Linked DNA regions of Homo sapiens: regions 1, 3, 4, 5 and 6 are each linked to region 2. The links are contacts of gene promoters, found by promoter capture Hi-C in blood cells and fetal thymus (Javierre and others, 2016). All regions are on one chromosome and are shown on one strand. The core of a region is centred on a gene start or on the middle of the fragment in contact, and the rest is flanking DNA. Distances in the headings are between cores, read along the strand shown. Region 1 holds the start of ZNF383 (zinc finger protein 383). Region 2 holds the start of ZNF606 (zinc finger protein 606). Region 3 holds the start of ZNF382 (zinc finger protein 382). Region 4 has its middle 3.0 kb from the start of ZNF790. Region 5 holds the start of ZNF793-AS1 (ZNF793 antisense RNA 1). Region 6 holds the start of ZNF461 (zinc finger protein 461).

Evidence for each region. The method cuts DNA at HindIII sites, captures the fragments that hold promoters and counts their contacts. A CHiCAGO score of 5 or more calls a contact.
Region 1: a contact is called between the fragment with the promoter of ZNF383 here and the fragment with the promoter of ZNF606 in region 2, in 6 of 17 cell types (total CD4 T cells, non-activated CD4 T cells, activated CD4 T cells and 3 more). The highest score is 18.6, in total CD4 T cells.
Region 3: the fragment with the promoter of ZNF382 here is called in contact with the fragment with the promoter of ZNF606 in region 2 in 2 of 17 cell types (non-activated CD4 T cells and naive CD8 T cells); the score reaches 8.0 in non-activated CD4 T cells.
Region 4: a contact is called between a fragment that was not itself captured here and the fragment with the promoter of ZNF606 in region 2, in 1 of 17 cell types (total CD4 T cells). The highest score is 6.4, in total CD4 T cells.
Region 5: a fragment that was not itself captured here is called in contact with the fragment with the promoter of ZNF606 in region 2 in 2 of 17 cell types (naive CD8 T cells and activated CD4 T cells); the score reaches 6.3 in naive CD8 T cells.
Region 6: a contact is called between the fragment with the promoter of ZNF461 here and the fragment with the promoter of ZNF606 in region 2, in 1 of 17 cell types (non-activated CD4 T cells). The highest score is 5.2, in non-activated CD4 T cells.

Annotation. Positions count from the first base shown.
Region 1 is chr19:37,215,041-37,219,463 of GRCh38, forward strand. It overlaps ZNF383 (zinc finger protein 383), which reads left to right and starts at 3,174. Exons shown (of 6, transcript NM_001387601.1): 1 at 3,174-3,234. RefSeq lists an enhancer at 2,800-3,289. The HindIII fragment of the contact is 5,435 bases long and covers 2,485-4,423 here.
Region 2 is chr19:58,000,945-58,005,949 of GRCh38, forward strand. ZNF606 (zinc finger protein 606) reads right to left here and starts at 1,876. Exons shown (of 7, transcript NM_001348022.3): 1 at 1,452-1,876; 2 at 345-426. The coding sequence starts at 375. ZNF606-AS1 (ZNF606 antisense RNA 1) reads left to right here and starts at 1,950. Exons shown (of 4, transcript NR_036508.1): 1 at 1,950-2,102; 2 at 2,267-2,392; 3 at 3,439-3,756; 4 at 4,963-5,005. RefSeq lists an enhancer at 1,808-2,227. The HindIII fragment of the contact is 14,498 bases long and covers 991-5,005 here.
Region 3 is chr19:36,603,354-36,608,137 of GRCh38, forward strand. ZNF382 (zinc finger protein 382) reads left to right here and starts at 1,960. Exons shown (of 5, transcript NM_032825.5): 1 at 1,960-1,994; 2 at 4,199-4,269. It also overlaps a transcript of ZNF529 not described here. RefSeq lists enhancers at 1,232-1,371, 2,352-2,411 and a silencer at 1,932-1,991. The HindIII fragment of the contact is 5,073 bases long and covers 331-4,784 here.
Region 4 is chr19:36,839,147-36,843,691 of GRCh38, forward strand. It overlaps a transcript of ZNF790 not described here. Among named protein-coding and RNA genes, the nearest start is that of ZNF790, 3.0 kb to the left of the region's middle. The HindIII fragment of the contact is 1,231 bases long and covers 1,917-3,147 here.
Region 5 is chr19:37,504,105-37,508,511 of GRCh38, forward strand. ZNF793-AS1 (ZNF793 antisense RNA 1) reads right to left here and starts at 2,983. Exons shown (of 3, transcript NR_110723.1): 1 at 2,735-2,983; 2 at 1,742-1,936. ZNF793 (zinc finger protein 793) reads left to right here and starts at 2,835. Exons shown (of 8, transcript NM_001013659.3): 1 at 2,835-2,862; 2 at 4,161-4,299. RefSeq lists enhancers at 1,753-2,544, 2,545-3,336, 2,902-3,051. The HindIII fragment of the contact is 826 bases long and covers 1,150-1,975 here.
Region 6 is chr19:36,665,539-36,669,920 of GRCh38, forward strand. ZNF461 (zinc finger protein 461) reads right to left here and starts at 1,299. Exons shown (of 6, transcript NM_153257.5): 1 at 1,152-1,299. It also overlaps a transcript of ZNF567 not described here. RefSeq lists an enhancer at 1,476-1,605. The HindIII fragment of the contact is 6,595 bases long and covers 1-4,382 here.

The DNA.
Region 1 (4,423 bases), core at 1,924-4,423, about 21 Mb before region 2:
ACTAGGGAGGCTGAGGCAGGAGAATCACTTGAACCCAGGAGGCAGACGTTGCAGTGAGCCGAGATCCCACCACTGCACTCCAGCTTGGGCAACAGAGGGAGACCCCATCTCAAAATAAATAAATAAAAATTAAAAAAATAAATTAAAAATTAAAAAAAAGAAATGAGTTTTTTCTGCTCTAAAATCAAAAGTTTGCAAGCTGCATTCCTTTCTGGAGGCTCTGGAGAATTTGTTTTTTTTCATTTTCCAAGTTGGAGAAGCTGCCTGCATTCCTCAGCTCATGGGCTCCTTTCATCTTTACACCCAATAATGGCTGGTCGTGTGTTTCTCACAGCACACAATTCCAACACTGACTTTATGCCTTCTTCCTCATTTCAGACCCCATGTGATTACATTGGGTCTAACTGGACAATCCAGTATAATTCCCCTATGTTAAGGTCAGCCGATTAGCAACTTTAATTCTACCTGTTAATTTAATTCCACTTGCCATGTAACATAGCATATTCACAAGTCCCAGGAACTAGCATGTGGGTATTTTGGGGGGAACATTATCCTGCCTACTTTAGATGTTGAGGTCATTCAAGAGGAAAATGATAGTTTTGTTAACATGTGATGTTAGAACAACTGAATTTCCATCTGGAAAATAATAACTTTGAACATTACCTCACATACACAAAAACTAACTTCAAGTGGATGATAGACCAAAAATAAAAACTAAAACTATACAACCTTTAGAATAAAACATAGGAGAAATTCTTCACAACACTAGAGGAGTCAAAGATTGTTAGAAAGACCAGAAAGCATGAAGCACATTTTAAAGATGAGAAATTGGATTTCATCAGAAGTAAAAACTGCTTTTTGAAAGACATCATGAAGAAACTGAGGGCTGGGCACAGTGACTCACACCTGTAATAACACAGTGAGACCCCATCTCCACAAAACACAAGAAAATTAGTTGGGGGTGGTGGTGCACACCTGCAGTCCCAGCTACTCAGGAGGATCGACTAAACCCAGGAGGTCAAGGCTGTGGTGAGCTATGTTAACACCACTGCACTCCAGACTAGGCAACAGAGCAAGACCCTGTCTCAAAAAAAAAAAAAAAAAAAAACTGAGAAGGTAAGCCCCAGGCAGGGAGAGAATATTTGCAATTTGCAATATGTATATTTGGCAAAGGACTTTTACCCAAACATATAAAGAATTGTTACAACTCAATAATAACCAATTTTAAAATAAGAAAATTTTATTTATTTATTTATTTATTATTATTTTTTGAGATGCAGTTTTGCTCTTGTTGCCCTAGCTGGAGTGCAACAGTGTGATCTCAGCTCACAGCAACCTCTGCCTCCCGGGTTCAAGTGATTCTCCTGCAGGGATTACAGGCATGCACCGCCACGCCTGGCCAATTTCGTATTTTTAGTAGAGACGGTGTTTCTCCACGTTGGTCAGGGTGGTCTCGAACTCCCAACCTCAGGTGATCTGCCCGCCTCAGCCTCCCAAAGTGCTAGGATTACAGGCGTGAGCCACTGCGCCCAGCCGAATATTTTCAATAGATGTCACAAAAGAAGATAAAAGAATGGCAAATAAGTATATGAAAGTATGCTAAGTTCATTGACATCAGGAAATGCAAATTAAAAACATAATTTGATACTACTGCTCATTCCTTAGAATAGTCAATAGATGCCTGATGTGGGGTTTGGGAGGTGGGGATTGACTTAACAATGTGGGGGGCAGAGGGCGGTGAATAAAAATATTCTATATCCGCCGGGCGCGGTGGCTCACGCTTGTAATCTCAGCACTTTGGGAGGCCGAGGCGAGCGGATCACGAAGTCAGAAGTTCGAGGTCGGGAGTTCGAGACCAGCCTGTGAGCTCGAACCCTGTCTCTACTAAAAATACAAAAATTAGCCAGGCATGGTGGCGGGCACCTGTAATACCAGCTACTCGGAAGGCTGAGGCAGGAGAATCGCTTGAACCCGGGAGGCGGAACTTGCAGTGAGCCGAGATCTCGCCACTGCAGTCCAGCCTGGGTGACAGCTAGACTCCAACTCAAAAAAAAAAAAAAAAAAATTCTATATCCAGTAACACTAAGGATAAATGCTTGAGGGGATAGACACCCTATTTTACATGATATGATTCTTACGCATTGCATGCCTGTATCAAAACATCTCATGTACCCCATATACAACTACTATGTACCCACAAAAATTTAACTAAAATGCTTAAAAATTTTTTAATTTTAAAAAATATTCTATATCCTGATTACGATGGTGGTGACAAGGGTTTAGACATGCGTTGAAGCTTACCGAACAGTTCACTTAAAATGAGTGCATTTTATTGTATCTAAATTATTCTTCAGTAAAGTTGATTTTTAAAAAACATGCACACAAATATAATTTACAAACTATAACATTAGCTCGTTTATGGTGTACCATTCAGTCACTTTTAGTGTATTCAGAGTTGTGCAAACATCATTATCTAATTCAAGAAGCTTTGCATTACCCCAAAAATGAACCCTTTAGCTATTACCAATCACTCACAGTTCCCCCTAATCCTGCTAGTCCTAAAAAACTCTAACTTACTCCTTTTCCGTAGATTTGACTATTTTAAATATTTCCTATAAATGCAGTCATACAGTATGTGGCTTATCCACGGATGAAGGCAAAAATGACGATTTAGTCAGTCTAGCATTCTCAGAGAGCGTTATAACGCCTAGTACAGTCCGGGGTCCTGGGTGCGTTCTGCACTGAGTCGGCTTGGGGCAGGAAGTCATTTAAGCGACCTCCTTCCACTTGCCCCAGCGCCTCACCCCTTCCTGCTCTAGACTACAGTTCCCAAAAATCCTTGCGGCTCTAGTCAACATCTGGCCCGAAGCTGGCGACCTTTTCCTGTTTCTCAGGGAACTCCCTGGGGTTGGCCGGTACCATGGAGGAAGATTGTCTTCAGCGTGCAGGGCCAGCGTCCTACGGCAGTTTCACTCTGAGCCTGTGTCTGGATCACGGAGACGCGGGGTAGCGGTTCGGAGTGCGGAGCAGGGATGTCCCCGAGCTGTGCAGCTGCAAGAACCCGAAAAAACAGGCGCCATCTTCTCGGCGCGGTCCTACTCCGGACTGTATTTCCCAGAGGCCCCCGCGAGTCCAGGGCAGCCCCTTCATTTGCCTGCTGGACCCTCCGCCTCAAGGGTAGGGGAAGTGCGCGGTGAGCGGCCTGGGTCTTGCAGGCTCGGCTGGGGCCCGCAGGTACGTGCATGGGAGTTTGAAGGGACTGACCAGGCTGGTCTGGAGTGTTGGGCATGTATGAGTGTGTCGGGCATGTATGAGTTGGTCGGGCTGATAGAGGGGGTGGTGGGGAGGCGGGCGCGAGGCGTGGGCTTCCGTGTGTGAGTGTGACCTTATGTGACTGTGCCTCTCTGTGTGCGCGGGTGTGATTGTATATCCTCGTTGTAGTTGTGTAATTGTAACAATGTAAGGCTGTATGTGTAGGTATGACTGTGTCCCGTGTTGGGACTGTGATTGTGTGTGGCTGTGTAACTTTGCGTGACATTTGTGGAGGGTGTTTGTGTGGAGAGAATCTGATGAGGCTGTGACTGTGTGTTAGTCTGAGGGGTGTGTGTAATTGTGTTTGTATGACTGTTAGCAGCACTTAAGTGTACTGGATGCCTTACTGAGTAAATCTACTACCCAGAAATAACCCAGTAACGTGAGAATGTGAGAGTGTGACCATGTAACTTTATGTAGCACTGTGTCTGCGGTTGGAAAGTGCGTGTAATCGTGCCGGGGTGATATGTGTGTCCTAGTGGTCATTGTGTTATTTTGAATGTGTGATTGTGTGTAGTGCTCAATAGGGGTCCTGGGGAGGGGGGAACTGTAACTTTGTGTGGCTCAGTAGTGCGTGTGGTATTGTGACTATCTGTAGCACTCTGGTTCTGAATGGTGCTATGTTTGAGGGGTCTGTAAATATGCTAGTGTAACTTATCCTCAAGGTAGATGTGGGACAATGATTGTGTGACCATATATAGTGTTATTGTTTGGGTGAGGCGTGCCTGTGGAGGTCTATGTGGGTCCCCATGGTGGCTGGGTGACTGCAGCATTGGGTAGGGGGTGCTTGTGACTGTCTTTGTGACTCCAGCTCTCCCTGTGAGGTCAGGACAGATTCTCGAGAGGAGAGACCTCACCCCTCTGATACCAAGAATGCTCATGACAGCCTACACTTCTCTGTTTTTGTTTTGTTTTGTTTTAAGGCGGAGTTTCGCTGTTGTTGCCCAGGCTGGAGTGCAATGGCGCAATCTCGGCTCACCGCAACCTCCGCCTCCCCGGTTCAAGCAATTCTCCTGCCTCAGCCTTCCTAGTAGCTGGGATTACAGGCGTGTGTCACCACGCCCTGCTAATTTTGTATTTTCAGTAGAGACGGGGTTTCTCCGTGTTGGTC
Region 2 (5,005 bases), core at 626-3,125:
CAACCAATGCTATATAAGTAAAAACAATAAAGGTAAAAATATATATGAGAGCAGTAGAGACAATATTTTATTATATGTATCACTGTTGTTTAGGAAACCCCACAAACCACCAGAAAAATCCCTTAAAACTAATGACACCTCTCAGGAGATGACTATAAAACATAAAAGTTAGTGTCTTTTATGCCAACAATTTTCCTCCTTTACCACCAATCAGTTCTAATTTTGTACCAAGATAGACAGACCCCCTTCCATCCTCAAAAGTCCTCAGCCCATCACCAGCTCTGACCCATGACTGCAGCAGCTAATGATAGGGGAGGCCCAGGAGAAACACAACTTGGACTCACCCCAGGAGGCCCACGGGTTGATGGCTGCCATCCCGAGGACTGATTGACCAGGCACCTGCCCAGGAACACAGCAAATCCCAACCTAGTGACAAAAGTGAAAAAAGACAAAACTAGTCCTTTCTCACAGAAGACCAAGTGGGAACAAAGAAGGGAATCCATCCACCGAAGCAACAAAAAAACTTGTAAGGAGCATCGTAAGAAAAGAGAATTTACATGTCAAAAAAGTAACACAATTCCTGGAGAGAAATGAAAGGTAATTTGCATAAGCTGGAAAAAAGAGCATGATCCTGAATGAGAGGGTACAAATTTGTCAGCTATTCCCAAGAGACAGCCAGTCACAACACAGATGGAACTTTTGGATTAATCTGACAATTATTGTAAAATCAACTTGCAATCCTCATATATTAGTGGTTGCCTAGAGCTGGGGGAAAAATGAAATGGGGAGTGACTGCTTAAGGGGAACAAGGGTTTCTTTGTGGGGTGATGAAATGTTCTAAAATTAGATAATGGGGATGATTGCACAACTTTATTAATATACAATAAAACCGGTGAATTGCACACTTTTAAGTGCTTAAAGTGAACATTATGTTATGCAAATTTAATCCCACCTCCAAAAAAAATTCACCTCCAAGATTTACTAAGCCTAAGCTTGTGTGTGTGTGGAGGACTTAGAGATGGGCCTGGCGCCCAGACCCCTAACTCCTCAGGTTCCAGATCTTTGTACAAGTCAGCAACCTCTCGAATGGATTCCTGGGTATGTGTATAAAGCACTAGAACACACAGTGGGCCTCAGGAGCACCGGAATCAGCGCGAAAACGCAGAATGCAAACCGTACTTTGCACCATTATTTGCAACTTGACAGTGACCGCCGCCGTCACTGCATGTTTAAGGGAACCCGGAGCTGTTTCCAACCCAGGTCTGACGTCCTTCACAGTGCTTTGTGTGAACTGGCAGGGGGAGAAACGACGGCTGGGGAACGAACGGGGTTATTCGTCCCATCAATGGCCTCAGAAGCATCCTTATCACCTGCTTCCAGAGCTCCCGACCCAAATTTCCTCCTCAAGACCGACGCGGCCGCGACGCTGCAAAAGCTCGTCCCGGCCTCACCTGGCTCGCGGCCGGCGGTCCCCCTTGAAGGCGGCGCAGCAGGATCGGGGTCTGCCCGCCTGGGGCGTTTGGCTTTTGTCCCGCGCCGAGGTCCGGCCCAGGAGTGCGCTTGGGAGCTCCCGGCGCGGCCTCGGGGACAAAGGCCCGCGGAGCCGACGTGCAGCAGAGTTCACCCAGGCCCGTCCGACCAGAAAACGAAGAACGCCCGGAGGCGGGAGGCCGGAGGCAGGCTGCTGGCTGGAGAACCGACGGCAACGACGGCGCAAAGCCGGCGCGGAAAGGGCAGGCGCAGGACCCACCCTGACGCCGCCTCTCCCAGCCGGCTCTCCTGACCCCCCAAGCCCCGCAGCTACGGCGGCCCCACAGCCTGAGCAAAGGCCTCACCTCAGCCGCGGACAATGGCGGCTGCTTCCCCGGCGTCGACCGGAGCGCGCCGCGGGGTCTGCTGGGAGCTGTAGTTCCAGGCGGGCACTTCCGGCGTCGGGCAGCGGCGCCGCCATGACAGGTTCCTGGGCCGCGCCGCCTCGCCCTGCCTGGGCGGGGTTGGGACCTTTCTGGCACCTGCGTCGAAGCCGGCGGCAGGATGGACTTTGTTGTCCCGGTCCCAGACCACCCTCCTCCACCGTCGCCTCCCACTGCAAAAAGGCCTGGGTAAGTCGCGGCCCCGCGGGCCTCGGTTTGCCCATCCGCAAAATGGCGCCTCGTGGTACCGGGTTTCCCGGGAGGAGCTCGGCGAGTTCTCAGCGCTCTCGAGGGATCCTTCCATTTGGCGTTCGCAAGATTGTGAGAAAGTGACTGCTGTTATTCTCTTTAAGATAAGGAACCTAATTCGAGCTACCCTTCTCTGTGAAGCTCGACGGCTGAGAACGTCAGGGCTCGTTCCCAAGTCTCTTTCCAGAGGCCAGGCTTTATGGGAGCATGGGTTACCAGCGACGCACCCTGTGAGTTTTCCTCTATCGATATGCATGGAGCGGTTCGGGAGCGGTGGCTCATTCCTGTAGTCCCAGCACTTCGGGAAGCTGTGGCGGGAGGATCAGTTGAGTTCAGGAGTTCGACACCACCCTGGGCAACATAGCGAGACCACATCTCTACAAAAAAAATACAAAAATTAGCCCGGTGTGATGGCGCGCGCCTGTAGTCCCCGCTACTTAGGAGGTTGCGGTGGAAGGATTGCTTGAGCCTGGGAGGTCAAGGTTGCAGTGAGCTATGATCGCACCACTGCACTTCAGCCTGGGCAACAGAGCAAGACCCGGCATTAAAACAAACAAAAACGGGCCGGGCGCGGTGGCTCACAGCTGTAATCCCAGCACTTTGGGAGGCCAAGGCAGGTGGATCGCCTGAGGTCAGGAGTTCCGAGACCAGTCTGGGCAACATGATAAAACCTCGTCTCTACTAAAAATACCAAAAATTAGCCGGGCTTGGTGGAGGGCACCTGTACCCAGCTACTTGGGAGGCTGAGGCAGGAGAATCGCTTGAACCCGGGAAGCGGAGGCTACAGTAAGCCGAGATCAAGCCATTGCACTCCAGCCTGGGCAGCAGGGCAAGACTCTGTCTCAAAAAAAGGGACTGAGGGACTGTAGGTGGTGATACCAAAGAAAGCATGGCCATTTAGGAAGCTAGACTTGAGTGAGCAGTGGGCAAGAGAGATTTTGAAGATATTTCCACTAGTAATGGAGGATCATTTTAAAAAGCTGGCCTGTGGGTTGGGCTTTTGTTGTTGGGTGGTGTTGGCACTCACTGTGGGTGGGCAAAGGGGAGTAGCCCTTTCAGAGGGAGAGGAAAAGTTCAAGTAGGACAGGCTGAATTCAAGGGAGAGGAAAATTTCAAGTAGGACAGGCTGAATTCGAGGGAGAGGACCATGAGAGAGGTAAGGTGGAAGGGGCAAGGTGTTGGGACAGGCCCCAGCTGGCAGGAAGGTGAACCCAGTCAGAGTGGGCACTGAGAGGAAAGCAATCTATGGATGGTACAGCCACAATTTCCATCTCAGGATCAAGCAGAGAAAGAGAGGCTGGAGAAGGAAGAGTGACAGAAGTAAGAAGAGAGTGTCTCTCCACTTCCACTCCAGCCCCCTACAGCTCATCCTCCAGCAGGCAGCCAAGGGCACTTTTAGGATCTCACATCAGGTCCTTGCCTCACATTCTGCACTGGCTTCCCAAGTAATTAAAGTAAAATCCAAATTCCAGCTCACAGCTTAGAAAACTCAGCAGGACTGGCCTCTGTCCTATCCCACACCCCACCTCAGTCCCTCAAGCTCATCTCCTGTCATTCCTGCCCATTTCTGGACCCCAGCCACTCCTCAAACAGGGTAAGTCCATTCCTGCTTCAGGGCCTTTGTACGTATTGTTTCCTCTTCCTGGAATCTTCTTCCTTGTACAGCCCCAGGGTTTTCTTTTTTTCATCCAGATCACAGCACAGATGTCACATCCTGGTAACAGCCAGCTGTGACTCATCTCCCTAATTCTCAATTGTATTACTCTCTTTTTATTTTCTTCGTATCGTAACTGATAGTCTCATACAGTACAGAAGCCAAGTTTTAAGATATGCAATCACCAAATACCTGCTACACAAACCTCAATGTTCATATAAAATAAGACTAGAATTCATATTCTAAAGAGAGATGAGGTAGCTCTGTTCACTTTTGAGAGGGAACTCAAATGAGAGAGATACCTTTGACCTAAAGGTGTCAGGAAACCAGATGAAGAAAAACACCCCTGCTATGATTTGAATGTTTTTATCCTCTCCAAAATTCATGTTGAAACTTACTCCCCAGTGCAGTAGTGTTGGGAGGCAGGGTCTAATGGGATTTATGGAGGTCATAAGGCTCTGCTGTCATGAATGGATTAATGTTGTAAACCAAAAAATAAAATTCTAAGCCCCCCACCCCCCAACCATATGAATAGACCCCTCCTCTCAGCCAAGGGCATTCCAAAGTTAATTTGAAAAATGAGTTCGGGCCATGATGGGAAGCAGAAGCTGGACTTGCCTCATTATACCCTCCTCCCTTCTAGAATTAGTGATAGAACAGACTCTTTAAGTCTGATAAGAAACATTTACAGTCTGTTATCTCCGGAGGTTTCATCTGCTTGGTAAAACCTTGAGTTCCACAACCCCAGACATTCCTTTCTATTGACAATAACTCTTTAAATCAATTGGCAATCAGAAATCTTTAAATCTGCCTATAACCTGGAAACTTTCTGTACCAGTATACATCTTATATGTATTGATTGATGTCTCATGTCTCCCTAAGATGTATAAAAGCAAGCTGAACCCTAACCACCCTGGGCATGTCCTCAGGATCTCCTGAGAGCTGCGTCAGGGGCCACTGGTCACCATATTTGGCTCAGAGTAAATCTCTTCAAATATTTTACAGAGTTTGACTCTTCGTCAACAATGCCATTGTAAAAGGTTCATGGAGAGATTCTGCATGTGCTTGCATTCTCTTTCTCTCTCTCTCTTTCTTTCTCTCCCCCCACCCCCACCCTCCACCACCCTGCCCTTTACCTTCTGTCAGGTGAGGATGCAGTGTCCAAGGCACCATCTTGAACTCATCATCG
Region 3 (4,784 bases), core at 710-3,209, about 21 Mb before region 2:
CTGGAAAGAAGGAGATCTGTCTTCATAATGTCATCAGTAACTGGGAAGAGAAGGACTAGAGACCAGGTAAATAGATAAGTCACTATTTGGTGAGCATTTCAAATGAAGTTATTCCACATCCTGAAAAACAAAAATGCATTTCATAAAACAAAGAAAAAAATCAAAATGACCTCCAGCTTTGCTTTAAAATGTGCAACTACAATGCTTTTCTTCTCTCAGAGCTCTTCTCTTGGAATACAGCAAAATGTGGAAAGAAAGGGAATCACAATATACTCAGCCTTTCTTGGAGCCCAGACAGGCTAAATAAGAACACATTCTTCACCACCGGCAAGCTTCCATAACCCATGCTGAATATGACCAGATGGAAGTATGAGAAAGACTGGAATATTGTTGACTCTTCCCTTCATAAAGAAAAGTCAGGTTCACCAAAGCCTGGGACTGAAATGTTTCTGTATTCACAATAATTTCCTTTAGACAGCTATGAAAATGCTGTGGATCTGCAATATTCAACTTGCCCCCACAGAGCTTCCAAAAGGGATCTTTTGGCTAGGCACGGTGGCTCACGCCTGTAATCCCAGCACTTTGGGAAGCCGAGGCGGGTGGATCACCTGAGGTCAGGAGTTCGAGACCAGTCTGACCAACATGGTGAAACCCCGTCTCTACTAAAAATACAAAAATGAGCCGGGCATGGTGGTGCATGCCTGTAATCCCAGCTACTCGGGAGGCTGAGGCAGGAGAATTGCTTGAACCCGGAAGGCGGAGGTTGCAATGAGCCGAGATTGCGCCACTGCACTCCAGCCTGGGCAACAAGAGCAAAACTCCATCTCACACACACACACAAAATCTTTGGAGAAACGAATCCTACTCCTGGGGCCTCAATATCATATCTTCCCAGAACCTTGCCTTGGGAGCAATTCCAGCTCTAACATCTCCATATCAAACACGAGGCTGTGCATATCAGAACACAGCCTTGTCCATGTGAAACACAAGGCTGTGCTTTTTCAGTTGGAAACTTCATTCTGGATCTCAAATATCCAACTTTCTTTTCGATAGCCATTTGACTGCACACTGTGCAACGTGGTTATAAGGTGAAATGACTGAGGCAGTGAAAGAAATCCCAGTATAACAAACTCCAAGAAACCACGTAACTTAAAATTGGCCCCAGAGGTTGGCGAGGCTGCATGCCACTGTGTATTATGCATTATGAAAGCGACAGGGGCCATGCTTTAGAACAGAAGGTCTCAGAGTCTTCACAGACACAGATCGAGCCATACGGGGACCTTGTCCACGTATTCCTGAGCCCCAGAACTGCAGAAATCAAACTCTACAAAAGCTGCACCAGGCCAGTTTTGATCACAGTCTCCAGTGGGTCACAACAGCGCTGTCACAGGATCACTGATAACAGCATGACACATTCATAGTCACCGCTCAGCGCCGTCACACAAACGGCCCCGCCCCCACTCAGTCCCGCGGGCCCAATCGGGGACAGTCAGGGCTGTCCCGGGCTGTGCACCTGCTGTGCACACACACCCCCTGCTGTGCACACCCCCCGCCCCCCCGGGACCATCACAGGCGCGCCCACTCACACCACCACACACGGACGCAGCCACAGAACGGCACACACAAACACAATCACACAGTCTCCCTCCCCAGCAGGTGACTTGCACACAGGCCTGGGGCTTCTGCCTCCACAAACCCTCTCCGCGTCCCATGAACCCAGGTCCCCTGCCGTGAGCTCTTCTCGCATCCAGACCCGGGTCACCTCAACTCACCACATGGAAAACGAACACCAGGTCAACGGAAAAGGGAGCCGGGGTCCTGGCAGAAGCGTAGTGCCAGCCGCAATAGGGCGGCCGTGGGTGCAAACGGAGGGGAGCGCCGGCAGCTAGCACCGCGCGGCGACTAACGGGCCGCCCCGGAGACTCCTGGGAGCTCAGGCCCACGCGCGAGTGCGCAGGCGCAGACGACTCACCCTGGGCCGGGGGTGAGGCTTGGTGGGTGCCAGGGGTGCTGAGGAGGCCAAGGAGGGCACTGGGAGCTCCGTTCCGGGAGAGCTGTCTAAGGACGCGGAACCGGGTGGGGAGGCCAGGGAGGTAACCAAGAGTCCGAGCCGGGCCTGGAAATTCTGAGGAGGAAACCGGGACCGCGGTATCCAGACGCTCCGATCTGTACGAGCCGGGCCTCGGGCGTGGTCCATGGGCGTGACCTTGAGGGTGACCCGGAGCGAGCTCCGCGAAGGGGGATTTTGCCCGTTCTGATCCCGCGGAAGCGCCATCGCTGGCGGCGGGTCCCCGCGCGGAGCGGGCGCTGTGTGTTCGCGCGCGCGGGCGCGCGCTGAATAGGGGTGGCCTCCTGCGCCCAACCTGCTGCATTTTAGGTGCTTGCCTCTCTTTGGGATGTTGTGGCCGATTGTGTGTGAAAAGTGAACGGAGTAGTGTTGCTGCGCGAGGTTTCCTCTGCGTGTGTCTATTTTTAGATTAGGTGTGAGTCGCATTTGAGACTGCCTTTGAGTGTGGAGAATTGCAAGTGATTTGTAGGTGTGGTTGTGACTGCCTGGAGTCGTGTTAGCTGCTGTCTGAGGTTGTGAATGACAAGTGGGGCCTGTAGGTTGGTGGTTCTCTGAAGGATGTTTGATTGACTGTGACTCTGCATGTGTTTGTAACCTACTGTTACTTCTGGTGGTTTTGTGGCCTTAGTGACCTAAATATTTGAATGATTGAGGAACTCTGTTATGACCATGGCTAGTTGGTTATGTAAGACTTGATTATCTGAATAGTAGCCATTAAGCCTGCCTCCAAAACTGTAACTAAGTAGCAATTTAGCAAATAAAATAGAGATAACAGTATCAGAGGGGAAGAGATGATTTTCATAATTCCCAGATTCATTTCCTGGAAACACCATATTAACTAAAACCAGTATGTTGAAATGAATAGCATTCCATTGGGGACATGCAGGAAATTTTTTTTTTTTTTTTTTTTTTACCATAACTACCACTTTTGTTGTTGTTTTTTGTTTGTTTTAAGACAAGGTCTTGCTCTTTTGCCCAGGCTGGAGTGTAGTGGCATGATCTCTGCTCACTGCCACCTCTACCTCTGAAGTTCAAGTGATTCTCCTGCCCCAGCTTCCTGAGTAGCTGGGACTACAGGCTTGTGCCACCACGCTCGGCTAGTTTTTGTATTTTTAGTAGAGATGGGGTTTCACCATGTTGCCCAGGCTGGTCTTGAACTCCTGACCTCAAGTGATCCCCTCCCCCCGCCCCCTCGGCCTGCCAAAGTACTGGGATTACAGGTGTGAGCCACTGTGCCTGGCATAACTACCACTTTCAACACTTGTATATGAGTGAGGTTTCCTACTCCCTTAGGCTTGCTAAGATAATAAAAAGTATTTGATAGATTTTTAATAAGTCCAGTCTCACTGTAGTAATTAAAATAGTTATTTTGCGGGCCTGGTGCAGTGACTGATGCCTGTAATCCCAGCATTTTGGGAGGCCAAGGTGGGCAGATCACCTGAGATCGAGAATTCGAGACCAGCCTGACCAACATGGAGAAACCCCATCTCTACTAAAAATACAAAATTAGCCGGGCATGGTGGTGCATGCCTGTAATCCCAGCTACTCAGGAGGCTGAGGCAGGAGAATCGCTTGAACCCGGGAGGTGGAGGTTGCGGTCAGTCAAGATTGTACCATTGCACTCCAGCCTGGGCAACAAGAGTGAAACTCTGTCTCAAAAAAAAAAAAAAAAAAGATTATTCTCAACTACAACATAGACCAGATAGGCAAAGATTTAAAAGTTGTCAACTGTCTTCATCAGGGCTTGGGAAGGTATTCTCATCCACTACTATCAGTGTAAATTGGCAAAAAGTCCAAGAAGAACCGTTTGGAAATACACAGTAAACCTGTGGTTAGAGGTAGATGGAAGGCAGAGCTGCAGAGGGAAAAACACAGTGTTCCCTCTCTTCAAGCTAAAACAGGTTCCCCAGAATCCTGTATACTTTACCAAGAGACTGGGTTTCTGGTGTTTGTGAGGGAGCCTGATTTGTCTGTTTTCCCACTAACTACCATCCTGGACATCTGAAGGGTACACAGGGTGGACAAGTGCTGAAATAGTGAACATTCATGCAGATTTAACTGAGTTAATTCTGGGAGTTCTGAGTCAAGTATGGTCTCACATACGTATATCCTCCATCTTTGCTTTCTCAGGACTGTTTCTTTTTCCAAAAGAGGAGCTCAAAAGAGAAAGTTCATCTAGAAATCTCAAAGCCATGTCTCAGGTGAGATGATGTTTCCTCTCTTTCTGAAATAACTTTTTTTCATGGTGTATGAACATGAGCTTCACTGTCCTTTAACCTTCCCTGATATTGGGATTTGCTTCCATGAAATTAGTCTTCAGTCAGGGCCAGATTAGGCTGAGGCAGGCAAGTGGCATGAGGTGAAATATTTAAGGGGTACCCTCAGGGCTGTGCCCTCCTAAATTTTGCATTCTAGGTGCCTCACCTGCCTCACCCTGTATCCAGCCCTGTTCACAATTTCTCCATTCCAACCAAATCAACTTAAGCCTTCCCCAAGTGTACCTTCTGGTTGTACATATTCATTGGGTATATCATTCATCATCTCCTTTCTCAGTCTTCTCACAAACAAACTGCTGGAATAGAAAGGTATTGTCTTGATTTAAATGGGAATATATGGCTTGAATGAATTTAACTTGTCCTGATGCTGATTTGAGACCTAAGCTGTGAGTAGTCATGGAGCAGACGTGGAAAAACCTTGATGATCTCCGCTAGCCTAG
Region 4 (4,545 bases), core at 1,282-3,781, about 21 Mb before region 2:
CACTTGCCAGTTTTCATTTGCTTCTCTTTTAGATGTACATCATTTCAATCTACATCTAAACTTTCTGACAGAGGAGTAATTTTTTTCAGTACTTTCAAACTTATCAGGTAACTAAAATAGTTGTTTCTTTTTTTATTGTGAAACAGAAAATACTTGAAGTGCATAAAATGTGTAAGTTCAGTATAACTCCACACAAGTGTTGGTATCTCAAGAACAAATGCCCATTCTATGTGATCATTTCTCTTTTTGTTTGTTTGTTTGTTGTTTTTTTTGAGACAGGGTCTGGCTTTGTCACCCAGGCTGGAGTACAGTGGCACGATCTAGGCTCTCTGCAACCTCTGCCTCCCTGGCTCAAGTGATCCTCCCACCTCAGCCTCCAGAATAGCTGGGACTACAGGTGTGTGCCATCACACTCAGCTAATTTTTATAGAGACAGGGTCTCGCCATGTTGGCCAGGCTGGTCTCGAACTCCTGGGCTCAAGTGATCCTCCCAAGTAGGCCTCACAAAGTACTGGCATTACAGGCATGAGTCACTGCACATAACCTGTGTGATCATTTCTGATACCCAGCTCCAGCTCCAGCTGATCTTTAGGGTATTAATAATATCTTGGCTCTTTAATAGTTTTAATCTCTCAGCTGGACGCGGTGGCTCACGCCTGTAATCCCAGCACTTTGGGAGGCTGAGGAGGGTGGATCACCTGAGGTCAGGAGTTCGAGACCAGCTTGGCTAACATGGTAAAACCCTGTCTCTACTAATAATACAAAAATTAGCTAGGTGTGGTGGTGCATGCCTGTAATCCCAGCTACTCTGGAGGCTGAGGCAGGAGAATCGCTTGAACCCAGGAGGCAGAGGTTGCAGTGAACCAAGATCACACCACTGCACTCCAGTCTGGGCGACAAGAGCGAAACTCCATCTCAAAAAAAGAAAAAAAAGTTTTAATCTTGCTGTGAAATGTATATAAATGCAATCAAATTGTACAAATTTTCTGTCTTGATTAGTTGTTAAACTCCTAACTGGATTAACCGAAAACCCCATAGTAAAGGCCTTACAGAAGGAAAGGTATGCCCATCCAGCCATCAACATCATTTTCCTGGTACTACTGGCAGGGGACCCCAAGACCAACCACTACACGCCCAAGCTCTGATGATTCACTGGGAGGCTCACAGTGAAGTGATACAAAAGAAAATCAGTAAAGAAAAAAGCGCATGGGGCAAAGTCCAGGGGAAACCAGGTGCACACTGCGAAGGGTTCTTTCCCAGTAAATTTATATGGGATTTATTTGTTCCCCAGCAGTGAGTTGTGACAATACATGTGAGATGTTACCAATCAGGGCAGTTTATTATAGATTCAGTGCCCTATGTTTTTATTGGGGGCTGGTCACATAGGCAGTCTGTGCCTAACACATACCAGAATTTCAAATTCCCAGAAGGAAAGCGGGTGTTTAACATAAACCATACTGTTTGTACAAAAAGTTTAGGCATAGTAAGCCACTTATTAGGAAGGTGGGAACCAATCTGAAATTCAAGTTCTAGATGCAAGCCAAAGACTAACCTCGCATATCAGGCCTTTCTAAGGATAAGTAGTCTCAGACCTGCTATGTTAACTAATTTCTGCTCACTACTGTCCTAAAGATGTATGGTTTTCAGCAACATCAAATTACAAGACACATGAAAAGGCAAGAAAAATCATGACACTCAAGACATAAAAGCAAAAAGCAACAACAAACAAATAGAGGTAGACTCAGGTAGGATCTCCCCAGGAGCTTGAGGCTGCAGTGAACTGTGATTGCACCACTGCACTCTAGCCTGGGCAACAAAGCAAGACCCTACCTCAAAAATTAAAAGAAAAGAAAAAGATATGATGTAGATGTTGGAACTATCTAAAAAGGAATTTAAAATATTATTAATATTTTCAAAGCTTTACCATAATGTTTTTCAACCAGAGGTGATTTTGTTCTCCAGGAGATATACAGCACAGTATGAAGTTCTTGGTAGTCACAACTGGAGAGGTACAATTTGCATTTAGAGGACAGAGGTCAGGGAAGCTGCTAAATACACTACAAGCACAGGATAGCTTGCCACAACAAAGAATTATCCAGTCCCAAATAATGGTCCAAGGTTGAGATGCCCTAAGTAATCAAGACAGTGTGTTTTTGGTGAAGGACAGAAAGATAGATTAATGGAAGGAACAGGCTGGGCACGGTGGGTCATGCCTGTAATCCCAGCACTGTGGGAGGCCAAGGCAGGTGGATCGCATGAGGTCAGGAGTTTGAGACCAGCCTGGCCAATGTGGTGAAACCCCATCTCTACTAAAAATACAAAAATTAGCTGGGTATGGTGGCTCGTGCCTGTAATCCCAGCTACTCAGGAGGCTGAGACATGAGAACCTCTTCAACCTGGGGAATGGAGGTTGCAGTGAGCTGAGATGACACCACTGCACTCCAGCCTGGGCAACAGAGCAAGACTCCATCTCAAAAAATATATATATATATTTTTAGGCCAAGGCAGGCGGATCACCTAAGATCAGGAGTTCAAGACCAGCCTGTCCAACATGGCGAAATCCCATCTCTACTAAAAAATACAAAAATTAGCTGGATGTGGTAAGGCAGGGAGAATTGCTTGAACCCAGGAAGTGGAAGTTGCAGTGAGCCGAGATCACACCACTGCACTGCAGCCTGGAGGACATAGCAAGACTCCATCTCGGGGTGGGGGGTGGGGGGAGGGGAGAAGTTATTATTATTTTTTTTTGTAGAGACAAGGTTTCACTATGTTGCCCTGGCTGGTCTCAAACTCCTGGCCTGAAGCGCCCCTCCCGCCTCTGCCTCCCAAAGTGCTTGGATTACAGGCATGAACCACCACTCCTAGCCTATAAAACTTTTTTAGGAACACATAAAAGAAAGTGTACATGACCTGCAGTTAGATGAAGGGTTCTTAGACATGACAACAAAAGCACAATCCATAAAAGAACAACTTGATATACTGGACTTCATAGAAAATGTAAACGTCTGCTATTGAAGTAACACCGTTAAGGAGAAAGACATGGGATAGATTGGGAGAAAATATTTGTAAATCATATATCAGGCAGAGGACTTGTATCCAGAATATATAGAGAACCTTCAAAACTCAACAAGTAAACAAATAACCTCAAGCTTAAAATGTGCAAAGGGCATAAACGGAAATAAAAAGATAGATACCAGGAAAAAATATTATAAAATGTGCCTATATGAGATTTATAAATCACTAATTTCCACCATATATAAAGTGCTCATACATTTCAATAAAAGTGAATAATATTTCTAGAATTTAAAAAATTAGTATTATAGTGAGACAGACAAAGGAAACATAGTTCATGGAAATAATAAGTTTTAAATATTTAAAAAGGTATTCACCTTCATATCCAATGAAACAAAGTTAATAATATAGTCAGAATGAAACTATAAAAGTCACTTTAGGGATACAATGGAGTGGCTTGCAGCAAACCAGTATTCCTGCAGAAAACTAAAAAATCAGATATAATACAAAAAAAAAAAACACAAAGCTTTTTAACTTTTTTTTCCTGTATGAAAAAGACATGAGGGGCTGGGCGCGGTGGCTCATGCCTGTAATCCCAGCACTTTGGGAGGCTGAGGCAGGTGAATCACAAGGTCAGGAGTTCGAGAGCAGCCTGGCCAACATGGTGACACCCTGTCTCTACTAAAAATACAAAAAATTAGCTGGGCGTAGTGGCGGATGCCTGTAATCCCAGCTACTCAGGAGGCTGAGGCAGGAGAATCGCTTGAACCCAGGAGGTGGAGGTTGCAGTGAGCCAAGATCGCACCACCACACTCCAGCCCTGGCAACAGTGAGACTCCATCTCAAAAAAAAAAAAAAAAAAAAGACATGAAGGAGTGTTTGGGACAACCAGGAATAGCGTAGTCAAGACTATAGATTGTAGGTAATCACAGACATTGTGCAGCCACATTTTTCCTGGATTATTTGCCAATTCTTGGCAAAGGGCAGAAGGATCCAGACTGCTAGGACTTTAGTTTTCTGGGCCTAAAAACACAACATTGGAGACTTTATGGGCCAAGATCCCTGTGAGAAAAGAGGGACACAGACTTGAACTCTACATAAGGCTGGTTTTCTTCTCAAGACAGTTACCCATTTCTGAAACTGGTTGGGTCAGGAGGCTCAGGAACTTAGGCGGAAAGCTTCCAAAAAGCAGCAGAGTTTTTGGTAGTCTTGCTGGATTAAGAAGACAAAGATTTTGAGTTCAGGCCCTGTCAGGGGAAGGTGCCTTGGTGAACACACCAGATCCTCCTGAAACCCTGATGGGCTACGTCCTAGGAGCAGGCAAACCAGAAGCACAATGAACCTCCACAACCGTAATGGAGCCCTGACTCAACTCAATCACTGATTAAATGAAGGTCATCAGCCCCTACTTGATCTGCCCAGTAAAGGAAAGGATGAATTCTCTAAAGGAAGATATTATCTGCAGCCTCTACTATTTTTATACACCAGTCCAGAATTTAATTTTAAAAAGTATTAAGCATGCCGAGACAGGAC
Region 5 (4,407 bases), core at 313-2,812, about 20 Mb before region 2:
GGGTGGCCATGTGACGTCTCAAAGACTAGTGAATGGAAATGACATGTATAGTTTTTGAGGCAGAACGTTTAATTCCCAGCAAAAGACCCTCAAAGGCTGTCTTTCCCTCGGCCTTCATGAGTGACAATTTACCAGTTGTGGCTGCTTTATTGGTCTAATCCTAGAATAAGAACAGCCCTTGAAGTGAGCAGGCCAGTGATCAATCAGGCATTTAATAGGCACTTTATAAATACTCATTTTACTTCAATATTATTATTTTTGTTTTTTTAGAGACAGAGTCTCACCCAGGCTGGAGTGCAATGGCACAATCTTGGCCCACTGAAACCTCCACCTCCTGGGTTCAGTGATTCTCCTACCTCAGCCTCCCGAGCAGCTGGAATTATAGGCGTCCACCATGCCGGCTAATTTTTGTATTTTTAGTAGAGACGGGGTTCCAACATGTTGGCCGGGTTGGTCTTGAACTCCTGACCTCAGGTGATCTGCCCACCTTGGCTTCTCAAAGTGCTGGAATTACATGTGTGAGCTACCATGCCCAGCCTAAATGGTGATTTTAAATTAATTACTATAATCACTTCAAAGTGTTGTCATATAAACCACTTATATTAAATCAAATGAAGCAAGGACCCTTGACCTCTTTGTTAAATTTTAAAAATCTAGCAGAGCCATAGGCCTTTAATTTTTCCATCGCAAGGAAGAAGAGGAAACTGGTAATAATCTCCTCTGACAGAATAATCTCGCAACTTTAGGAACTTTATTTAAAGAATTCAGAAATGGGGTTGGGCGCGGTGGCTCACACCTGTAGTCCCAGCACTTTGGGAGGTCGAGGCAGGCGGATCACCTGAGGTCGGGAGTTCGAGACCAGCCTGACCAACATGGAGAAACCCCGTCTCTACTAAAAATACAAAATTAGCCTGGCGTGGTGGTGCATGCCTGTAATCCCAGCTACTCAGGAGGCTGAGGCAGGAGAATCGCTTGAACCCGGGAGGCAGAGGTTGCGGTGAGCTGAAATTGCACCAATGCACTCCAGCCTAGGCAACAAGAGCGAAACTCCGTCTCAAAAAAAAAAAAAAAGAAGAAATGTCAATTGTAGCATTTTAACACAGCATTGAAGTTATCTACTGATGCATAGCAAATTACCCTAAACTCAGAAGCTTAAAACAACAAACATGTAGTATCTTACACACTTTCTGAGGGTGAGGAATATAGGAGCTGCTATAGCTGAGTGCTTGTGACTGTGTCTCTCACGCAGTTGCAGTCAAACTATTGGCAGGGGCTGCTGTCATCTCAAGGTTTGACTGGGGCTGGGAGATGTGCTTCCAAGGGTGATACACTTGGTTATAGGAAGGCCCCAGCTACTCCCAGGCTATTGGGTGGAGGGCTTAGTTCCTTGCTACCTGGGCCTCTCCATAGGCTGTCTCGGTATCCTCATGACATGGCAACTAACTTCTCTCAAAGTGGGGGCAGCAGCCTTTAAGACAGAACTCAAGGTGCCATTTATTATATTTAATCTCAGCAGTGACATCTATCACTGCTACTGCATTCTATTAGTCTCACAGTCCAACCCTGGTACAATGTGGGAGGGAACTACATAAGAGTGTGAATAGTAGGAGGTAGGAATCATTGGGAAACATTTTGAGGTCAGTTATTGTATCAGTTGCTAGGATGACCAGTTGGAATTAGGATTTTTTTAAAAAGCCATTTTCATAAGACAAGGCAATCTTTTCTAGAGATGTTCCAATACCTGTGATATGCGGAGCACTGCGCTAGGTGGTATTCAAGGCAGGCCTGTAGTGAATGCTGTTGGACCCAGCCACCACCCCTGAGCAATCATATGCAGACCGCTGGCTTCTTAACTGCAGACACCTACAGACTCAGCCTAAGACTTTCCCACGAGGCAGGCTCGAAGTGCTGGAGCTTTAACACCTCTGGAGTGGCCCTAAAACAATTAGGAAGAGAGATGGTGTAGACATATGTAAGCTTCATCGGCCTGGTGGTTGTGAAAACTTGGAAGTGGTTTCTACACAATCCCCCAGAGGTCCCAAGCTGACTGAGCCCTCATTGATCCAGAGCTAATCTGCTCACCTATGCACTGTATATTCGTTCCCATCGCTCCCGTCTCACTTCTCCATCCCCCACCTACCAAATAAACTGCTTGCACTCATTCTTTCCTCAGGTCGGCTTCTCGGGCAAGCCTCCTTAGGTAAAAACCTTGCTTTCAACATTTCCTTTCCATTATGCGCTAAGAACTCTGATCTCTTCCCGCTGCGGCAGCCCCGCCCTTTCCTTGCGGCTCCGCCCTTTCCGTGAAGTCACGCCCGTCCTTAGGCTGTCTCTGTCTCCCTAAGAGCGAGTCTCTTCGCTGCTCTCTAACTCCTAGAGCTGGCTCAGAAAGAGTTTCACATTGCCATAGGGGAGCTCCTAGGAGAGGCTGCACCCATTGCACGTAAGAAGCGGTAAAAATGTACGCGGCCATCTTACCAGGCTGCCGGAGACAAAGAAAGCTCAGCTTTGATGTCTGGGCGCCACCATGTTGGCCACAGGAGGTTTTGGCATCTGAGATGCTGAGTTAAGAGCAGAGACGACATCTCTGTTTAGGGATCCAGGGACACTTCCTTCTCCTTGTCCTAAAATAGCCTTATCTTTTGGTCTAGCAAAGGGCTTAATCATCCGTTTTACGGCACAGTTTTAAACATGGCCGCCCCAGGTAGGAGTCAAGTGGGCGTCGCCATCATACCTCCAATTACAGCTTTGAGAAACCCAGAATCCTGTTCACTGGAAGGTTGCCGGGTGGCGGCTGACAGCCTCAAAGTCGCAATTGAGTCTGCGCACCGGCCATTCAGGATGGGACGACCTTATACCGCGGTGAGGCGGCGTGGCAGGACGACCAATTTCAGATTCAGGGCGCGGATGCAGCATAAATGGGAAGGCACGGTTTGAGAAACGGTCAAACCTGGGACTAGTGGAGGATAGTGAGCTGCCGACTACGGTGGCCGACTGGGTCAGCTATGGGTGCCCGTGAGGGTCAATGACAAGGGAACTGAAGGGTTAAGAGATTCGGCGTCTGAGCCTCGCGGGGCCTCAGTGGTGGCGGACAGAGGTTTGCGGGAGTCAGTGGCACGGTCTCTGAAGAAGATGGATTGGGAGTGTGTGGGAATCAATAAATGCGAGTTCTGTGAAATGTCTTGATTTTCAGGGTGCATGGGGTCAGTAATAGTGGTCTTCATGGGTCTGGGGTCAGTTGGGATTTTTCAGACACTGGTTTAGAGATCTTTAAGGTTAATGATCGGAGCCCGAGAGGATCAGTGATCGGAGGTTCTAAGTTCTGTGGGCAGTAATAGTTTGGGTACTGGAATTGGTGATTGTGGAAACTTTGGGGTTCAAATGAGGGAGGTCAGTGGTGATGAATGTTTGGAGAAATGTTTTGGGCCATCGGTGATTGAGACTTACTTCATATCATCGGTGGAGGATCGGAGAGTATTAACGATTGGACTTTTGTAGATCAGGGAATGGAGAATAGAGTCAAGTGTGCTTATCTTAAAGGTACGCCTCAATGAGGCTCAGTGATTCGGACTGTCACTTGTGGGTGGGAGTGGGACTGTGAGAATCAACAATTGATCCTCAGTCGTTGGGATATCATTGGCAATCAGTGTGGATTCATGATTGGGGGCTGTGTAATTTCACTGGCAATCAGATCGGATCGGTGTTCTTTGTAGTTACTGACCTGTAGTCTCTCCTGGTCAGATTTGAACATAGGGGAATATCAGTGACTATGAAAACCTCTGAGGGTTGGAGATTGGAGGCCAGTGATTGGGGGCACTATGCGTGTCTGATTAGGAGACTTATAGGGGTTGGTGTTGAGGGTCCTGAAATGTGGAGATTGGGGATGGGAAAATCACAGATTTGAGGCTGCAAGCCTGCATAGCGGGAACACATTTCACTCAGGTGACACTCCCTAGCTGAATAGCAGCCAGTTCCTCTCCACCAAGGCCCATCTGAAAACTCTTTTTTGAACCCACACCCTTTTTATTGTTCTCTACAATAATGAAAATAATTTGAAAGGATCGCGTGCTAAACTTATCTAAAGTAACATGTTACTAAAGACGTGGCTTCTATTCTTGTTAGGGATCTAATGCATATTTTTTCCTAATGTTTCCTTTAAGGCTCTTTCTGGCAAAGGTAATGACATACGCATCTGTGCCAGCATCCCAAGAGTGAGGCTGGTTTCTGGAAATCCATTCTGACTCTGTGACAGCGGGGATGGATGTGACCTTGCCCGTGGTTAGAAAACAAATTTACTGAGTAAGTATCTAAAATGATAATGTAGGCTGTGTGCAGTGGTTCATGCCTGTAATCCCAGCACTTTGGGAGGCTGAGGTGGGTGGATCATTTGAAGTCAGGAATTACTAG
Region 6 (4,382 bases), core at 49-2,548, about 21 Mb before region 2:
TCTCTACTAAAAATACAAAAATTAGCTGGGTGTGGTGGCGGATGCCTGTAATCCCAGCTACTCGTGAGGCTGAGGCAGGAGAACTGCTTAAAACCCGAAGGCGGAGGTTGCAGTGAGCCGAGATCGCGCCACCGCACTCCAGCCACGGTGAAAGAGAGAAACTTCGTCTCAAAAAAAAAAAAAAAAAAAGGAAGTTGCAGAACAATGTGTATTGTGGCCAAATCTCAGAAAAAAAAAATCAAACACATAGGTACATAAGCATACTACATATGTGGTGTTTTTCTGAGGCTGTAATGATAAATGCGGGGTAGCAATGTGATTTTCGCTTGTGTTGTGTGTGTAAATCTACAGCTAACTCCTCAAGTAGTCAGGAAAGGATGAGAGATGGATGAATGACAGATCTCTGGAGTGGGGCGTCCTGAGCCTTAGATGTGTGCACAGGAGCGGGGTGAGGTGAATGTGCGTGTGTCTGTGTGTGAGAGACCAGAGTTGACTGAGAGGAGTGGAAGCTCTCTGCCTGATCGTGTGAGCCTGAGGATAACGTGAATGTTTTTTTGTTTTTTTTTTTTTGAGACAGTTTCGTTTCACTCTTGTTGCCCAGGTTGGAGTGCAATGGCGCGATCTCGGCTCACAGCAACCTCCGCCTCCCGGGTTCAAGCGATTCTCCTGCCTCAGCCTCCCAAGGAGCTGGAATTACAGACATGCACCACCATACCCGGCTAATTTTGTATTTTTAGTAGAGGTGGGGTTTCTCCACGTTGGCCAGGCTGGTATCGAACTCCCGACATCAGGGCATCCACCCGCTTCGGGCTCCCAAAATGCTGGGATTACAGGGGTGAGCCACCGCTCCCGGCCTGTAAATGTGCTTTTTCTTTCACGTAAATAAATGAGATTTACACAAATAGCCATTCACAATCATGGTCACAGTCACCTACAAACCCCATTTACACAAATGATCAGGCACACAATCACACTGTCACTAAAGCACACCCACGCACCAGGTCGCTGTCCCAACAGTAACACACAGCCCAAAGAGAAACCCTACTTCCTCACGCATTCAAAACACACCCACCTAAGGGCTGATCCCGCACTCAGAGGCCTAAAACTATAGACATTCCCTTCCGCGGCACTGGTGAGCCAGGATTTCTTACCTTCAGCATTCTCAGGGAAGGCTCTGGTCCAAGCTCTGATTCGGATTCCAAGCGAAGCCACACGCCCAGCTCTTCCTTCTCCACCGGCCCGGGACATCCTTACCTGCCTCTACCCGGAGACCATTCCTGCGAGGCTCCTACCGGAAGTAGCTGTGGACAGCAGTGTCCTCTGGGAAATGCAGTCCGAGGGGAGAGCGCCTGGGGTGGAGCGGGTGTGTTCCGCCGGGCTCCGGGATGCACTTGCGCAGTTTCACCCGAGGCTGGAGTGACGCCAACCTGTTAATGTTCGTTTTCGGATTCTGGACTTCGGGTTCCGCTGAGGACGGATTTCGGAATAGGCACAGTGGCTGCCCCGAACCCCTCAAGGCGGCCTCCGCGGGCTGTGGCTGAAGATAATTTTCGGCGGGCGCGGACTAACCCGGCTTCCCTTTGTGGAGTTGTGGTGAGAAAGGTGTTTTGTTGTGCGCGTGTCCGAAGGTGACTCCGGAGGAGAAGGTGGATATGAACTGACGGTGAGGGTGTAGCGCGTGAGATTTGTATGTGAAACGATTTAAAAAAAAATTTTTTTTTTGGCCGGGCGCGGTGGCTCACGCCAAGGCGGGCGGATCACCGAGACCAGCCTGACCAACATGGAGAAACCCCGTCTCTACTAAAAATACAAAATTAGCCGGGCGTGATGGCGCATGCCTGTAATCCCAGCTACTCGGGAGGCTGAGGCAGGAGAATCGCTTGAACCCGGGAGGCAGAGGTTGCGGTGAGCCGAGGTCGCGCCATTGCACTCCAGCCTGGGCGACAGAGCAACTCCTTCTCAAACAAACAAACAAAACTGTATGTCATATATTTGACTCCATTTATTTATTTATTTAGAGACAGAGTCTTCTTGCCCTGTTGCCCGGGCAAGAAAAAACAAACAACAACAACAACAAAAAACTGTACGTCATATATTTCACTCAACTTTTTTTTTTTCTTTTTTTTTTTTTGAGACGGAGTCTCGCTGTCGCCCAGGCTGGAGTGCAGTGGCGCAATCTCGGCTCACTGCAAGCTCCGCCTCCCGGGTTCACGCCATTCTCCTGCCTCAGCCTCCCGAGTAGCTGGGACTACAGGCGCCCGCCACCTCGCCCGGCTAATTTTTTGTATTTTTAGTAGAGACGGGGTTTCATCGTGTTAGCCAGGATGGTCTCGATCTCCTGACCTCGTGATTCGCCCGCCTCGGCCTCCCAAAGTGCTGGATTACAGGCGTGAGCCACCGCGCCCGGCCTCTTTTTGAGACAGGGTCTTCATGCCCTGTTGCCCAGGCTGACTGCGGTGGCGCGATCCTAGCTCACTGCAGTCTCCACCTCCTCAGCTCCTCCCGCATCCACCTCCCAAAGTGCTGGGATAGCAGGCGTGAGCCACCGGGTCAGGCCAAAACGATTTATTTTATTTTTATTTTTTTGGTAAAGACAGGGTCTCGCTATGTTGCCCAGGCTGGTGGTCTCGAACTCCTGGGCTCAAGCGATCCTCCCGTCTCAGTGGCCAAAGTATTGGATGACAGGTGTGAGCCACCGCGCTGGGTGGTGAAACGGTTTTGAGGCTTTTTGAGAATGGCTGTTCTATATGCCCGCGTGGGGCTCATGCGGCGAGCGCCGCCACTCCCGCAGTGGCCCCTGTGGGGGTGATACGTGATGTGGCTTAAATGTGAGAGGCCACCTGGACCCGTGTGATTGCCACGTTTGCAGGAGCGCAGCCACGTGCACAGGGATCTTGTGACATTCTGTGTGAGGCTTTTTGCGCTGGGTCCACCCATGATTAGAGGACTAGTGTGACTGTGGCGGCCCCTGAGAAGGGAAGAAGCTGGTTGCGACCAGGAAGGTCTGAGATGGATGAATGACAGATCTCTGGACCAGGGCGTCCTGAACCTTAGATGTATGCATAGGAGCGGTGTGAGGTGACTGTGTATGTTTGTGTGTGAGAGTCCAGAGCCGACTTAGAGGAGTGGAAGCTGGCACATGTTATCTGCCAGAAGGGACAGATCCATGGTAAGGATTTTTAACCTTGCTGAGAGACCAGTAACTCCATCACCAAGTGTAATATGAGGAAATGGTGCTTGTTTGAGAACAAGTGATTCTGCTTGTGTCTGATTCTCATTCATGTATGTGAGATGGTTTGCACTTGAAACTGTCAGTGAGAGAGAAAGTAGAGTGAAATATATGACGTACAGCTGGCCCTCCCTATCCATGGGTCTTGCATTGTGGATTCAACAAACCTTCAGTTGAAAATATCTGGGAAAAGAAGTTGATGTTTGCATCTGTACTGAACTTGTACAGGCTTTTTTTCTTGTCATTATGCCCTAAAAAATAGAATATAACAACTATGTACATAGTATTTACATGGTTATTAGGTGTTATAAGTAATCTAGAGAGGGTTTAAAGAATATGGGAGGATTTCCATAGATTATATGCAAATACCGTGTTCATTTTATATAAGGGACTTGAGCATCTGTGTATGTTGGTGGGGAGGGGTCCTGGAGGGACACTGAGGGATGACTATGTGAAAGTGGTTTGCGAATATGCTCAAGTCTCTGGATGAATTGTATGACAGTGAAGGGGTATGTGATTAGACTGTTGTGGCTTTGAGGTTGATGTGTATGTTTTAAAGGATTATGATTGAGTTGGAGATCATGTGAGATTTGGTGTGTTTAAATGTGACATGAATTAAAATCCGAATGAAAGATTGCGAAGTTATATGAATGTAGTAACTACATAAGAGAATGCAGGTATCTGGGACCCATGGATACGTTACAGTGGGGAAAATAAATAATCAGACCTTTCAGGGATTACTTTTCAGGGTAGTTTGGTGGCAGCACTTTGTATAAGGAAGGCAAATCCATATCCATAGTGTCTATTTCAGTGAGAAAAAAGCAGTCCGATGTAACCAACCTGCCACCAGAGAATGGTGTCATGTTGGGACTCAGTGTTGGTCTCTGCACAGTCACTCTAATAAAAGCCGTAGGTCCCTTTTGGAAGACTGGGAGAAAGATTAACAGTATAAATTTCTGGAAGTATACTGGTGCTCTTCCTTAAGGGGACCTGGCCTCCCCTTTGTTCAAGGGCTTCTGGGTCTCTTCACTGGCTCAAGTCTGGGTATTCATTGAGGGACACTGACTTTCTGTCTTTATGAATCAAGTTATACTTTTGTTCACTTGACCTAGAAGTCTTCCACTTACACAAATCAATTAACTCTTTAGTAGAT